2 separate regions of the Homo sapiens genome follow, and region 2 is linked to region 1. Evidence: promoter capture Hi-C in human tissues and cell types (Jung and others, 2019). All regions are on one chromosome and are shown on one strand. The core of a region is centred on a gene start or on the middle of the fragment in contact, and the rest is flanking DNA. Distances in the headings are between cores, read along the strand shown. Region 1 holds the start of HOXD9 (homeobox D9). Region 2 overlaps PDE11A (phosphodiesterase 11A).

What was found. Contacts are between HindIII fragments. The study calls those that stand out against the background at their distance.
Region 2: a contact is called between a fragment that was not itself captured here and the fragment with the promoter of HOXD9 in region 1, in 1 of the 25 tissues and cell types used here (dorsolateral prefrontal cortex).

Annotation. Positions count from the first base shown.
Region 1 is chr2:176,121,442-176,124,141 of GRCh38, reverse strand. HOXD9 (homeobox D9) reads right to left here and starts at 1,423. Exons shown (of 2, transcript NM_014213.4): 1 at 557-1,423; 2 at 1-208. The coding sequence starts at 1,373. The HindIII fragment of the contact is 11,890 bases long and covers 1-2,700 here.
Region 2 is chr2:177,740,370-177,743,069 of GRCh38, reverse strand. The region is part of intron 10 of PDE11A (phosphodiesterase 11A); the gene reads left to right. Among named protein-coding and RNA genes, the nearest start is that of PDE11A-AS1, 68 kb to the right of the region's middle. The HindIII fragment of the contact is 3,830 bases long and covers 1-2,700 here.

The DNA.
Region 1 (2,700 bases), core at 174-2,673:
TTTTTCATTTTCATCCTACGGTTCTGAAACCAGATTTTGACCTGTCTCTCTGTTAGGTTGAGAATCCTGGCCACCTCGTAGCGCCGGTCCCGGGTGAGGTACATGTTGAAGAGGAATTCTTTCTCCAGCTCAAGCGTCTGGTATTTGGTGTAGGGACAGCGCTTTTTCCGGGTGGAGCGAGCGTGGATCCAGTTCGCGGCGGGGTTGTCTACAAAGAGGGAGGTTTGGAGACGGGGAGAGAGGAGAGGAGGGGAGGCAGGGAGAGACCACAGGGTGGGGAAGAGAGGTCGTTAAATTAATTTCACCAAGGATGGTCGCTTTTCACAACTTGTGGGGAATTATCATAAAAAGCCTTAATGCTCGCGCTCTGTTTACCGTACTAACTGAGCGCCCAGGGTAGGTGGTTATGGGAAGCTCTTTTTATGGATGCATGTTGTTCGCCTAGGCTTGGGTAGGCGTCTAGACGTTTTTATAGGTTAGTAAAACTATCAGTTTTGCACATTCGAGCCTTACAGGTTTCAGCAATAAATCAGGGGGCAATTTCTTTTGCACTTACTTGGGTCAAGTTGCTGCTGCTGCGGCTGCGAATGCTGCTTCTCCTCCTCCTTCAGCGAACAGCCTGGGATCGGGTGGTCGCTGCAAGCTGAGGGCTCCGACGAGCCGCCCGTCCCAGTCGCGGCCCCGATCCCTGCCCCAGGCCCGGTTCCCCCCGTCGCCGCTGCCGCCTTCTCCTGCAGGAACGAGTTGCACGAGAACTCGGGGCCGCTGCTCCCCTGGGACTCCCGGGCCACGGAGCACTCAGTCCGTTTGGAGGAGGAGGATAAGGAAGTGGAGGAGGAGGAGGTGGTGGAGGCGGCCGTGGCGGGGGCCGGGGCCGCTCGGGTTTCAGGCTTAATCCCGTAGTGGCGCCCGTTGGCTGGGCCGCTGGGGCCAGGGCTGGGACCGCGGCCCGGACCGCCGCCTCCACCACCACCGCCACCGCCCGCACCGCCCGGGAAGCCGGGCAGCGGCTCCATCCAGGAGCGCACGTAGCGGCCGGGCTCGGAGGCAGAGGCGGCCAGGGGCGGCGGGGGAACGTACGGGTGGTAGAGGCCGCTCATCGCCGCCGCTGCCGGGGGCTGGGAGGGCACCGCGGACCACGAGGCAGAGAACACGGCCGATCTGGGGGCAAAACTACACGAGGCGAACTCGGCGGCGGTGGCGGCCGGGCCATCAGCCACACCTGCAGGCCGGCCCTGCGCGCCTGGCCCCGGCGGCCCGAAGCGCGCCGCGAACACCTCGTCGCCCTCATGGCCTATAAGCGAGTCCACGTAGTAGTTGCTGAGGGTGCCACTGGAAGACATTTTGAGGCGTCCCGCACTCCCACCCAACATTACACTGTCCGCCGCCGAGCAGCTCCCCGCCGGCGCCCGAGCCACCGACTAGTTCGCAGGCTGCAGCCTCCACCATTGGTCGCGCGGCCCACGTGATCATATTTACCAATACCGGGAGTAAATCAGTCCGCTAAACTGGGGGCTGCTGTGATTAAAAAAAAAATCATCAACATAAGCGCCGCAATTAGAGCCCGCAGGCCCAGGTCCATGTGCCCGGCTCGGCCCGGCCCGACCTGGCCTGGCCCGCCCAGCGGCTGCCAGGACCACAGACGCGACCGCATCCAGAGGAGGCGCTGGGGACTATTTGTTCGCTTCTTCTTGCAGCCCTCGGTCCCGCAGTCGGGCCCCGTCGCTGACTCTCCAGCTTCCGAGCCGCGGGCGGCGAGTCCAGGGCACACGGAGCGGCCGCGGGGGCGCCAGGCCGGTGTCGCCCGAGGCAGGCGGGCCCTCGGGGCGGCCCCTAGCGCCCGAGGGGAGCTGTTCTCCCCTCGCCTCTCTCCCTACTCACACCCACCCCTCCCCACACATCCCCACACACACGCTTGCTCACAGCTTGTCGTGTTGTTTAAAACAGGTGGAAGACCTCTGTAATGATATTATGCCTTTCAATAAAAATTTTATGAGGTGTATTTGATTATAGATTAATGTGTCCCTAATAAAACGGACGGATGGAGCAGATCGGAGGGCCCCCTCCCCCTGCCACACTCACACACGCCCGCGCGGCCACACACACCCCGACGTGAGGCTGGGCACACGCCGCGGCCCGAGGGGCGAGCCGGGGCGCGGCGGTGGAGGACACAGAGGGGCTTCTGCCTGCCCTCGGAAGGGCGGGCGGCCGGGCGAGTTGGCGCAGCACGGACAGTGGCGGCCAGGGTGCTTCGTCTTCTCCGATGATGCTGGAAAGGCCCTGGAAGAGAACACGCCACAGGGCAGAACCCAAATGCTAGAGCAGCTTGCTCCCGCCCGCCGCCTCAGCCCTGCCTCAGCGAGTCTCCCCGGGCAGGGCCGCTTCGCGCGGTTCGCACTTAAAGGCCTCGGAGGAGACTCCCAAAATGTCTAAAAAATTCGGCCGAATGGCTAGGTCCTTGGGACACTCCCTTCTGATTTTTTTCCCCCTACAGAGGTGAGGTTGAGCAGCCTTGAATCTGAGGGAAATGCCCATTGTCACTCCCAAATCCATGGTACAAAGCCTCGGAAGCCCGGCTGGGAGCCCAGACAAAAGCGGCCGGGGCGCCGGCAGCGGAGGGCATATTCCTTGCTCTACAAGTTGCCCAGCTCACCCTTGGAGGGCTCCCGGCCCACCTCCAGCCCCGAAAAGGAAGCGGGT
Region 2 (2,700 bases), core at 170-2,669, 1.6 Mb before region 1:
TTGTTTATGCAGAAGCAGGAGGCGAATTCAGAAACACATTACCCACGAATTCCAGAAGCATCAGAGTAGGAAAAGCAGCTGATATTTATTTAGCTGCTTGATCATTTCGCTTGTGCTCTGGGACTGGTCCCTAACACTTTCCTCTTGCTGGCTCTGCCACCTCTCCTCTTAGCTGGGGCCTCCCTTTTCAGGATGGGGATTAAAAGTCAGAACCTCCATTACCTCTACTGACCTTTGGAAATGGAGCTTTTCTTCAGACCTCAAGACATTGCCTCCTTTTACTTTCCTAGCCTTGTCTTCCTCCTGAGGAAAGTGTTCTCAGAGAAAGTCCCCTTTCACATCTGTCCATTGAATTTAGCTAACATTTAGGGACAGCCTGCCAAGGGGTGGACTCTCTAGCTGGTACAAAAATGAGGCAAACACAGTTTCTGTTCTGTCCGGCCCTTCAGAGAGTCCCTGTCTTGTGGGATGCATAGATACCTGCATAGCACCTGGCAATGTACCTGACACATAGCAAGCCCTCACTAAGTATTTGTCAAATGAACTGAGTGAGTGGTTGACTGCACAGCAACTTCGATGGAGAGCAGTCTATGGTAAATGCTGTAGGAGAGAAAAGGACAAAATGTAAGGGAAGATCGAAGTGACAGACATTGCCTGTGCTTGGAGGCACCAAGAAAGACTTCATCAGGGGCAATAGAGAGGATTAGAGCTGCAGGCCAGGGGTTCCGTAGAGCTAGATGGGGTGAGACAAACTGGGATTGTCATACTAGGGCTCCCCGAGAAGGGAAAATCTTTCCTGGACCTTTTCTAAACAGGATAGTCATGTATAGTTTTCTCTAAATACAGGGAGTATAATGATAGGAACCTAGGCATAGTAAGGGAGGGTGCACTCAACAAGATTATTGGACTGGAGAAGCACTCCACTGCCAGCTCTTCACAAGAGGGTCTCCTTCCCTGGCAGACTGTGCAGCCTGATAATTGCATTTGACAAGGTTACAGTCCTCTGATCCTTATCTTTTTTTTTTTTTTTCTTAAGAGACAGTGTCTCACTCTGTTACCAAGGCTGCTGCAGTGCAGTGTTGTGATCCTAGCTCACTGCAGCCCTGAACTCCTGGGCTCAAGCAATCCTCCCACCTCAGCCTCCCAAGTAGCTGGGACTGCAGGCGTGCACCACTGTGCCCGGCTAATTTTTTTTCTGTACAGATAGGATCTTGCCTAGGCTCATCTCCAACTCCTGGCTTCAAGTGAATCTCCTTCCTTGGCCTTCCAAAGTGTTGGGATTACAGGCATGAGCCATCACACCCAGTTCTTATCTTTAACTTGGACTTGATGTATCATGTTTTCCTCCAGTGTATCTTGGATAACCCCATATTGAATATATTTCTTTCCAAGAGTGAATATGGTGCAGTTCCCTAAAGAGAAAAAGCCTTTCTAGGTTGCGTTCTCTAAGGCACCAAGGAGAGAAAGAACTAAAATTGTAATCAGGACACTTTAAAGGGACCACCATTTTTGGGTCTGACATGGAACATTTATTTTGAATTTCTAGATATTTAGTGCTCAATTCATTTGCAATAATGATAACTGTCTGTTATGGACCAAATTGTTTCTTCCCCACTCCCAAATTCATATGTTGAGGCCCTAATCCCTAGTACCTTAGAACGTGACTGTATTTGGAGATAGGGGTTTTAAAGAGGTCATTAAGGCTAAATGAAGTCATATGGTTGAGCTGTAATCCAATGACTAGTGTCCTACAAGAAGAGGAAAAGACACCAGAGGTGCACATGTACAGAGAGAAGGCCGTGTGAGCACGTAGCGAGAAGGCAGCCATCCACAAGCCAAGGAGAGAGACCTCAAGAGAAACCAAACCTGCCAATACCTTGCTTTTGCACTTCCAGCCTCCAGAACTGTGGGAAAATAAATTTCTGTTGTCTAAGCCACCCAATTTGTGGTATTTTGCAGACTAACACACTGTCTTTTTCTGAGGGCCTCCTATGAACCTGGCACTGTGCTAAGTATTTTGTCTCACTGAAGCTTTTCAATGACTGTAAGATAGTTATCATTGTGTTCCCTTCTCAGAATAGGACACTGATGCTCAAGGCCACAGCTTTAGCACGCAGCAAACTCAGATTCAAATGCACATCTGTTTGGCTCAGGAGGTTATGCACTTGGCATCCCACCAACCCACATTTATTAATTACTTGCCATGAGAAAAGTACTAGGCTATGATAATTGCTGACATATGAGAATCTGAATCCTTTCCTTATGGAACTTATGAATGATGAGAGACAGATTCACAAGACCACAAAAATAAATAAGTTTTTTAAAGCTGCATGGAAGAAAATCTCTGGAAGCAATAATTCCATGCTGTGCTGCAGTGGATCTAAGCTAAGAGGCATTCAAATGATTGTGTGGGCAATATAGGGTAGTGGTTACAAACACAGAGGGCAGGGCTAGATTCATTGGGATTGATTTCTAGTCCCAGCAGTTTTCTAGTTATGTGACCTTGAGAAAGTCGCTTATCTTCTTAACCTCAGTTACTTCATCTGTGCTATGGAGGCTAAACTGGGACTAGTAATAGAATCTTACCCATGGGGTTGTTGCAGGATTAAATGGAATACTATAAAGCACTTAGCACAATGCTTGATACACAATATGTCTTAATAAATGCACCATGATGAAAAAAAGTTTCTAATGCGTGTT